Linked DNA regions of Homo sapiens: region 1 is linked to region 2. The links are contacts of gene promoters, found by promoter capture Hi-C in human tissues and cell types (Jung and others, 2019). All regions are on one chromosome and are shown on one strand. The core of a region is centred on a gene start or on the middle of the fragment in contact, and the rest is flanking DNA. Distances in the headings are between cores, read along the strand shown. Region 1 overlaps PTPRT (protein tyrosine phosphatase receptor type T). Region 2 holds the start of PTPRT (protein tyrosine phosphatase receptor type T).

Evidence for each region. The method cuts DNA at HindIII sites, captures the fragments that hold promoters and counts their contacts. A contact is called where the count stands out against the background at its distance.
Region 1: a contact is called between a fragment that was not itself captured here and the fragment with the promoter of PTPRT in region 2, in 1 of the 25 tissues and cell types used here (dorsolateral prefrontal cortex).

Annotation. Positions count from the first base shown.
Region 1 is chr20:43,057,081-43,061,782 of GRCh38, forward strand. All of the region lies in intron 1 of PTPRT (protein tyrosine phosphatase receptor type T), which reads right to left. Among named protein-coding and RNA genes, the nearest start is that of PTPRT-AS1, 91 kb to the left of the region's middle. The HindIII fragment of the contact is 3,903 bases long and covers 1-3,639 here.
Region 2 is chr20:43,187,260-43,192,205 of GRCh38, forward strand. It overlaps PTPRT (protein tyrosine phosphatase receptor type T), which reads right to left and starts at 2,647. Exons shown (of 31, transcript NM_007050.6): 1 at 2,387-2,647. The coding sequence starts at 2,474. PTPRT-DT (PTPRT divergent transcript) reads left to right here and starts at 2,806. Exons shown (of 3, transcript NR_186414.1): 1 at 2,806-2,991. The HindIII fragment of the contact is 13,787 bases long and covers 1-4,909 here.

The sequences.
Region 1 (4,702 bases), core at 438-2,937, 130 kb before region 2:
GTAGTGATAGAAAACAGATCAGTAGTTGCCAGGGGCTTGGGTGGGGAAGAGTGTGTCTCTTAAACAGTAACACAGGAGAGTTTCTTTGTGGTCATGGGTCAGTTCTGCCTCCTGACTGTGGGGATAGTCACTTGAATCTACACACATGATGAAAGTTCATGGGGGTTGGGAGGGTGGGGAATGAAGGAAGGAGGAAGGGGGGGAAGGGGAGGGGAGGGGGGAAGGAATGGAGGAGGAGGGGGGAAGGGGAGAAGGAGGGGAGGGGAGAAAGGAAGGAAGGGCAGGGAGGTAGGGAAGGAAGGGAAGGAAAGGAGGAAAAGAAGGAAGGAGGGAAGGAGGGGAGGGGAAGAGAGGGGAGGAAGGAAAAGGAGGGTTGAAAGGAAAGGAAAAAGGAAAAGGGAATGAAAGGGAAGAAAAAAACTAAAAAAGAAAGTGCATGTGAAAACTAGTGAAGTCCAAATAAGGTAGATCTCTAAGTTAACAATTTCCTGGTTTTGACAATATTACTATGATTATGTAAAATATTACCTTTAGAGAAAGCTGGGTGAATGGTACAAGGAACTCTGTACTATGTTTGCAACTTCTTGTACATCTGAAAGTATTTCAAAATAAAAACTTAGAATTCTTTAAAGTGATGGCAAAGGCCCTGGACCACCAGGTTCTGAGTTGGGAAATATGCCTTGTACTTCCAGATTGGGCAACATGAATATGATAACTGCAGAGAGTTCAGGGGCTACTCACAGGACCTTTGCCATTAGTCACATGATTATTTGTTTATTCTTTGTCTTCCTTCTAGACTATAAATGCCTGGAGGTCAGGAGCCAAGTCAGTTTTGTTCCCCCACTCAATGCCTAACCCAGTGCTTAGTACATAGAAAGCACCCAGTATATATGTGTGAGATGAACAAAAAAACAAGAAGGGGAACAGGCAAGGAAGGAAGTATCACTCACGCTTTACAGAGGCAGTGGTGTGCAGAGGTTTCCATGCCTTGCCCTTGTGCACACAGCTGGAGAGAAGCAGGACAGGTACAAAAACCATCAGGGCTTCCAGAGTGCCCAGTGACCTTTTCTTAGTGCCATATGCCTCTCAACTTAGATCCCTGGTAGTTGCTTTATCTTACATAATAAAAAAAGTAAGAGGGGAGGAAAAAAAGAGCAGACACAGAGAGAGAAATGAGACAGAGAGACAAAGAGATATGAGGAAAGTAGTGAGAGAGATCGGGTGAAAGAGGGCAAGAAAGAGGGAGGAAGAGAAAGTGAGTGGGGAGAGAGAACAATGAAGAGAGAGAGGGAAGGAGAGAAGAGAGAAAGAGAGCCAGAGAAAGAAAGAAGGAGAGAGGAAGAGAGAGAGAGAAAAGAGGATGGAAGGAAAGGAGAGAGGGAAGGCAAGAGAAAATCTGCCCCAACATGGAAAATGACATTGAACAAATGGATTCCAAATTTTAACACGGCCCCACACCATAGGCCCAGGCCTCTGTAACTGCTCTAATTGCTCAGAAATGGTATTGTAATGTGAACAATATGTCATTAAGCAATAAACGCTTCATGCAAAATAACAAAGTGGTCATCAGTGAGATGGAAACCAGGAATAACCAAGGGAAATTGTGCTCCACATCTCTCCATGCTCCAATTATCAGACTGATCAGTGGCTCCTTTTGTCTGTTCAGAAGGTGCTGCAGTTTTCAGTACAACATAATATAATGTGAAATGCAATACACCAAGACTAAGAAAACCTTATTTTTTTTTCAGTCTTACAGAGAGAGCAACAGATTCAAATTTGAATTCAGGCTCTGCTATCTTCTTTGCAGCCACTGCGGCCCAAGCTGCACTGGGGCCCACTGGAGACCACCTCGGGTGACCAATGAGTATAGCATCAGAGTGTGGGGAGCAGAGTCTTCAATGTGAGGTGGCGCCAGGTAGGGCATGTCAAGGTCCTGCAGCCACTGGGAGCTCTTCCTTTGAAACCAGTCTGCACCCTGCACCTAGCCCTTGCACTCTGAGCCTATGATGGCAGGGGCAGGTCTGACGATCTCAGAATCAACTTTAGGGTCATTCTTCCACTGTCTTGGAGAATAGCTCCTGGCTTCCGTTAAGACTGCTGATTCATACTAATCTCCTTATCAAACAGTTGCTTGGACATAGCCTTAATGTTCTTTTTTTCAATATGTATAGGCTGAGAATTTTTCAAATCTCTAAGTTTTGATTCCTTTTTGCTTAACAATTTCATTTTTGAGTCATTTCTCTCTTCCTTGCATTTTACTCTGAGCAGTGAGGAGGAGCCAAGGCATACCTTCAACATTTTGCTTAGAAAGAGCTTCAGCTAAATATCCAATTTTATCATTCACAAGTTTTACCTTCCACAAAACACTAGAACATGAAGACAATTCATTCAGCTAAAAGCTTTGCCGCTTGATAAGAGATTGTCTTTTCTCCATTGCCCAATAACGTGGCTCTCATCTCCAACTGAGACCTCAGCAGAATGGCCTTTACCATCCGTATTTCTACCAACATTCTACTCAGCATTACTTAGGTATTCTCTCAGGAGGTGGAGGCTTTCTCTTGAGCTTTCTTCCTCTTCTGAGCCCTCACCAGAATCACCTTTAAAGGTCTGTTCAACAGCCAGGCCCAGTGACTCATGCCTGTAATCCCAGCATTTTGGGAGACTGAGGTGGGCAGATCAACTGATGTCAGGAGTTCAAGACCAGCCTGGCCAACATGGTGAAACCCTGCCTCTACTAAAAATACAAAAATTACCTGGGCATGGTGGTACACGTCTATAATCCCAGCTACTCAGGAGGCTGAGTCATGAGAACTGCTTGAACCCAGGAGGGGGAAGTTGCAGTGAGCTGAGATTGTGCCATTGTACTCCAGCCTGGGAGTGCAATGTATTCTGAGACAGAGTGAGACTTTGTCTAAAAAAAAAAAAATACATTATTTTATTTTTGTTATTATTATGTCTGTTCAAGGCAGTGTAGGCTTTTTCTAGCACGTACCTCAAAACTCTTCCAGCCTCATTATCCAGTTCCAAAGCCTGTTCCACATTTTCAGGTGTTTGGCACAGGAGCACCCCCATTTCTCGGTACCAATTTTTATCTTAGTCCATTTGAGCTGCTGTGACAGAACACCATAGACTAAGTGACTTATCAACAACATAAATTTATTTCTCACTGTTCTGGAGCCTGGGAAGTCCAAATTCAAGGCTACAAGAAGTTCTGTGTCTGGTGAGGACCTGCGTCCTGGAACATGGATGGTCTTCCTCTTGCTGTTTCCTCACATGGTGTGAGGGACAAGGGGGCTTTCTGAAGTCCCTTTTATAAGAGCACTGATTTATAAGAGCTTTCTTTCCTGGCCTAATCATCTCCCAAAGGCCCCACCTCCAAGTAACACACATCAGGGGTTAGATGTCAATAAACAAATTGTATGGGAACATAAACATTCAGTCTATAGCAGTCACTTTTCATCTATGTGACTATGAGCAAGTTAATATTTTTAATTCGGCTTTATTATCTGCAATACAGGCACAACAATACATACTTTGCATGGTTATTGTGAAGATTGAATGAAATAATTTATACAAATGTGGCTACTAGCACAGTGCCCACCATGCATTTAGCACTAAACAAGGACCTCTGTGTTCTCTTCCAGAGAGCTCTTCATCCAGAAGCTCAACACAAAATGTTGCACACTGTAGGACCATTCATATGACGTTCTACAATCAATAAAATGTGCCTAGTAAGAATTAGACTTGTTTGGGAGGAGGAGAACTAAAGGGCACAAGGGTACTTTCTGGGGTGACAGGTTGTGTATTTTGGTAAGATTATAGGTGTTACAGGAGTGCATGCATTAGCCAAAACTTTCTAACCCATATATTTAAGATCTACATACTTTACAGTATTTAAATTATACCTCAATAAAAAATTTAAAATAGATAGCTAGATATCTAGATAGCCAGATCTGTAGGTAGGTGGGTAAGTAGGAGGGTGGGTGAGTGGATGGGCGGATAAATGAATGGATGGATGGATGGATGGATGGATGGATGGATGGTCAGTCAGGGTACCTACTTCAGCATGAGGCTCACAATAAGCATTCCACAAGTATTTCTGAAGTTCCAGAATCAAAATTAATTCCTCTTAACTCCTTTCCGTCACTACTCTCGCTCCTCCAGAAACAATCTACTCAACTGTAGGGTGGCACAGCCAGTTCTAAAAGTGCTTCCTTCTATGTGCCTGAATCCTGGTCCCTGATACTCCGACTCAAGAGGCCAGGTGGATGACATCTGCCCACTGCCTCCTTATAACAGAACTCAACGGTCTTGAGTATCAAATGTGCTCGGCCTCATGTTGAGCACCTTTAAGTCCTTCACTGTACTAGTCACCTTCAATTCTTCAAAATCTCCTTGGACCGTGAGCCCAGATGGGCCTCTAGATGTCATCTTTTAAGTATGTGTCCTCAACGAATGGGCTCTGGGCAGCTCTACTGCTATGAAGTGGTGTCCACCATCTGGAGCTCATGCCTGTGGTTTGGTGCATAGTAATTGCCAATATCTACTGAGCACTTACTCCATGTCTAGCACTGTTCTAGATACAACATGTTTTCACTCCTTTAGCCTCCACAATAAATCAAAGAAGTCTATGTCCTTCCCATTTTACAGATCTGATCCAACAGAATTTCAAGGTAACTCTTTATCTCAGGGTCTTTTCAGA
Region 2 (4,946 bases), core at 1,397-3,896:
AAACACACTACTTAGTTTTAAAATGTATTTGTCCAAACTTGCCAAAAGTTTTAAATAAAATACTTTAAAGGAAATCAAGTTATTGTCATATTTATACTAGATTTGAAATACTAACAATTTCTGAATTTAGGAATAAAATAAGATAAGTCCATTTTTAAGTCAACATTTACAGTATTCTTGTTTTGACAAATACAGATGTTCATGAGGAACCCTGGGGAAAAAAAATCTAATTTAGATGGTCTAGTTGCCGTTAAACTGGAAAGGAGAGGACAGATATATACAGAAAATCCCCATTTCTACAAATGTGTGAGGCTTAGAATGCACCAGTTCTCCAATACAAGCTAATCCCATTCGTTTAAGGAGCCCCTGGCACAAAGGCACCCACTTGCTAAATATATGCTATATCGCAGGTTTGCAGAAACCACCCTGCCCAGGTAGACCCAAAAGAACCACAGATTTCTTCCCAAACCATATTCCAGGATTTCTTTTCTTTCTCCTGCATTCTAAAGAGCAAACAAAGAAAAGGTGCTCGCTCCTCACACTTCTCTAAATGTTTTAACAAAAGGCTGCTGAATAAACACATTACTCATTTAAAAATTGAAAAGAAGTTCTATTCCTGATATGAAAGCAACCAGATTTGCATTTTAATAGTTGTGGGCGAGCGCCACCTGGCGGGAGCATCCGGAACGGGCGGCGTTCAGCACTGGACAGCTTCCCGAGCCGGTACGGGTTTTACCGCTTGCTACCCAAGAACGATTCGAGACCCGTGATGGAATATTTTTGATCCTGTTTCTGCCGCGGGAACGTGAGTGGTATTAATGTGTGGTTGGCCGGTCATGCCTTAGAGGATATAAAATCTGAGTCACGAATCATGCCTGGATCCCCAGGACTGCCCCGGGCATCCTCCCTAGTACCCCTCCCTCCCCTAGCACACCTAACACACCCCCCAAAATGAGGAAAACAAGAATTGTGCACCATCTTTAGAATGGTGCTGTAGCTGTCCCTCTTCTCTCACTTGCTAATCCAACCTTTCAGCTTCACACACCTCAAAAGGAGTGTCTTCGTCACCCAACTTCCCAGCCAGGGAAACAGGCTGTCCCTTCACAGAAGTCGCCTATTCCGCTTCCATTTTAGTACCAAGCAAGGAAGGCTCTAAAGCATTTCCAACGGAATGTCCTTCCAGCGGCCCTTAACCTCAGACGCAGCTTGTGCAAAGACGCTGTACCTCCCCACAGGTTCGTTCTTTTGCTCTTTCTTTCTTCCTTTCCTTCTTTCGGTGAAATAATAAATGGGCACAGCTGTTGCTTAGCGATCCGAAACCAGCCTGTTCCTGCGTCCCACGGGCTGATCTCAGCCTGTCCCCGCAATCCCAGCCACCTCAGGCCGGCGTGGTTACACCAAAAGCAATCGGTGCTAAGAAACTTTAAGGTGATTTTGAACTTGGAAGTACACCTGCAGCACTCCCTTCTCTTCCCTCCGCCGCTACTCTTGGGGGGGGGGGGGCTCGGGGGTGGAAGCTGCCTGCGGTGGGGCTTGGTGATGTGTAAGACCCTGGACTGTGGTGCCCTCCAGCACCCGCCAACGTGCCTTTAGGAGCACGGCAGGCACCACCCCCCCGCCCCCGCTCCCCCTACTCTGGGGAACTACCTCTGCTCACCGCCTTCCCGTGGCCAAACCCAAATATGAGTTCCCCGAACTTTTCAGGAGCGGACGCGCTCACGGGTCAAATCCACTCCCCTCCAAGGGCCTTAACACGGGCGCCCAGCTACCTCGGAGAAAAGCCAGCGGGTAGGGCGGAGGTATTGCTCTCGGTCATCAACGCAAACATCCCCTCGGGTGCCTACAGCGGCCTGCTTAGGGGAGCAGCGTGTTCAGAGCAAATGGAGAGCTTCCTGTATCTCCGAGGAAAAAAGAAAAGCCGCCGCCCCGGCAGCCTCGGCCTGCTGGGGACCTGTCCTCCCCACTAAAAGCGCGCGCTGCCCGAGGAGCTGCCCGGGAGAGAACGCTCCACCCCGGGCGTCGGTGCCGCTCCTCGTCTCGCCGCCCCAAACACTCAAGTGGCAGATTCCGACAAGTGGGAGGCAGCAAGTGGAAATATTCGCAACAACCGCGGAAAGTTACTCCAGCCCGGGGGGCCGGCAGGAAACTGAAGCGGGGAACTTCGCCAAACGCGGGCTGCCGAGGGACGCGAGGGGCCGGGCTCGCTGGCCGGGGCGCGCGGGGACACTGCTTCCCGCGCCTGCAAGCTGAGACCCGGGTTCCGGCCATGGGGACCCGCGCCCCCGCGAGCCCACACAACTTTCTCCTCCGAGGGCCCCGCGGCTGGGGGCCCGCGCGCATCCAGGAGGGAGCGGGGAGCCCAGGGGAGCCGGGCGGGCGCACTCACCTGCGGCGCTCTGAGCCCGGGCGCCGGGCAGTGGCGGCAGCTGCAGCCTCAGGAGCAGGCTGAGGGCGAGCGCGGCGAGGCTCGCCATCCGGGCGGCGGCGGGCAGCTCAGCCCCTTCCCGCGGGGGCCGGGGCCGGGACTGGGGCGGGCGCGGGGTGGCCCCGCATCGCCGGCGCGGCCGCTGGCTGTGCGCGCGGCTGGCTCCGCTCGGGCTCCCGGAGCCGGCGCTCCTGCGTTCCAAGCCGAGGCGCGGCGCGAACTGAGGCGGGAGGCTGGGCGGGGGCGGGACGCGGGGGGCGGGGGGCGGTGTCCCCCGAGTCCTAACGCCGCCGCCGTTGCCGCCGCCGCCGCCGCCGCCGCCCGCCCGGGCGCTCCGCCTCGGCCGTGCACACACCCTCACGCGCACGCCCGCGCCTGGCACACGCCCGCGGCTGGCACACGCGGGCTCCCCCGCGCACCCTCTCCGGGGCCGACCAGCTCGGGCCGCTGGCACAGTCACGCGCGTCCACACATCACCCCCGCACCCACACGCCGGGCAGGGTCCTCGCCTCTTCGCCCCGCGCCGCGCCGCGCAGCCAAGCATCGTCTGCCCTGTGGGGGCGCAGGTACGGGGGCGGTGCGGGGAGGAGGAAGCTGCAGCAGCCGTTTGAACTCGGGGTGGGGAACAGGTGAATGGGGGTTCGGTGGCGAGAAGAGGGAGGGAGGGAGCAGCCCTCGCAACTCAAGATAAGGGGCCAGGTGAATTGCGAAAGCGGGTGGGGGCGTCTGCCCAAAGCTGGGGCAGGCGGCTGCTGGCCAGGGTCTCGGGCACACCCTGAGATGAGAATTTCATCTAAGAGCGCGCGCGCGCACACACACACAACCCACTCACACTCTTCTGGGCGCATCGCTGACCGCGCCACAATCGTCGTCCCCCTCAATTAGCCGCCCACCCCACCTTCTTCTTCACCCACATCTCTCTCTTGTCCCCACCACCACGCGGAAGGGGGCGCAGAAGGGGCATGAGGCATCCCCCCACCCCCTACAATTTTTCCCTGGCAGCCTTCCCTTTCCTTTTCTAGGGAGACAGAACCTTGTAGCTTTTTCCCTTTTCTTCTCGGTCTTAACAAAGACCTGGTTGGGGCTGAAAGCCTAAAACCATAGATCAGGGTTGGAGCTGTCCCTGGCAGCCCACGGCCCACAGCCTGGCTCTCTGCTGTCCTGGGAGGCAGCTGGTACCTGAGTCTTGGCTGGGGGTCTGAGATGTAAAAGCCAGGGGCAGGGATACCCAGAAATGCTTAAGGGATTCACACTTTGTGAACACTTTGCTACCTGGCCAAAGCCCTCCTTCTTCTGTGTCAGCACAGCCCCCCACCCCCATCCTTGTTGGGGTACCAGGGACTGGACTGGGGAGACTGTAAGTGAATTGTGAAAATCAAGCATGGCAGGGTTTCCAAAAGTGGGGAGCCCCAGGCTCTGGACCCAAGTTGGCATGGCAGAGAACACAGGGCGTCACTCTGTCAGTCCCCAGTTCCCAGTCCCCACTAGGTAAAGTGGCCCAGTTCCCTGGCATGGAAGCCCAATTTACAATCCCAGGCAAATTCTTCCACCCCTCTCCGGACCCCGACTCCCACCACCACCACCATGACCGTGACCACTTTCAAAAGCTGACGTGCTTGGACTAGCCTGTTGGACCAGCCAGTGCCTCCCACACTTGCCTGGTCAAAGAACTACCAGGAAGATTTCTCCAAGTCCTGCTTCCCAGACCCCTGCTGGGGAGAGTGGAATTTGGCAGGCCTGTCGGGGGTGGCCTGGGAGTTGAACCTTTTACAAGCTGCTTTGGAGATTAATAATTCTACCAATATTTATGGTGCATTTAATTGTGTGCCTTACTCTGTGCTGTTCTCTGGGGATACCACAATGCTATAGCCCTTAGGGACAATTGGAATGGAAAGATCCCTTCTGCTCAGAGCTGAGCTTCCAGCTGTTTGCTCCATCACTCACTCATTCTAACCCTGCCTTGGGCAGATGAGCAGTTAGGAAGTGTGCGAGGAGAGGCCTGACCCAAGACCACCACAAGCGACCCCAGTCATGGCAGATCCCAGGGGATGACCCGGGTGGGGAGATTTCTAAGCCACTAAAGAGCTTGGTGTCACACTTGTAACTTGTTGCCACTTTCTTGGGCTCCTGCCAATTCATCCCCTCTCTCAAGCTTTCTGGAAAACTATAAAATAGCAGTTCTCACAGCATCCTCAGAGCAACGCCCTTTGGCACCCCCCTGCACTCCTGCTTTAGGGATGTGATATCACTGCAGACAAATCCCCCAGGTCTGAATGGGGTTCATGTGGCCCCGAGGGGAAAAAAAAAATTCAGTAGTCACTGAGCTGGTGGAGTGGGACCTGATCCTGCACCAGGACTTACCTGCCCAGGTGCACCGTGGTCATGAACCGTGACCCTCTGTGCTTTCTAAACCTCCCTCTACTCCGAGAAACTGCCCCCTCTCCTTCAGTAGCACGTGCTGCCACCTGCTGCCCGGCCAGGCTCTGGCACCCACAGCACTGCCACGCTTTTGCACCGGCCA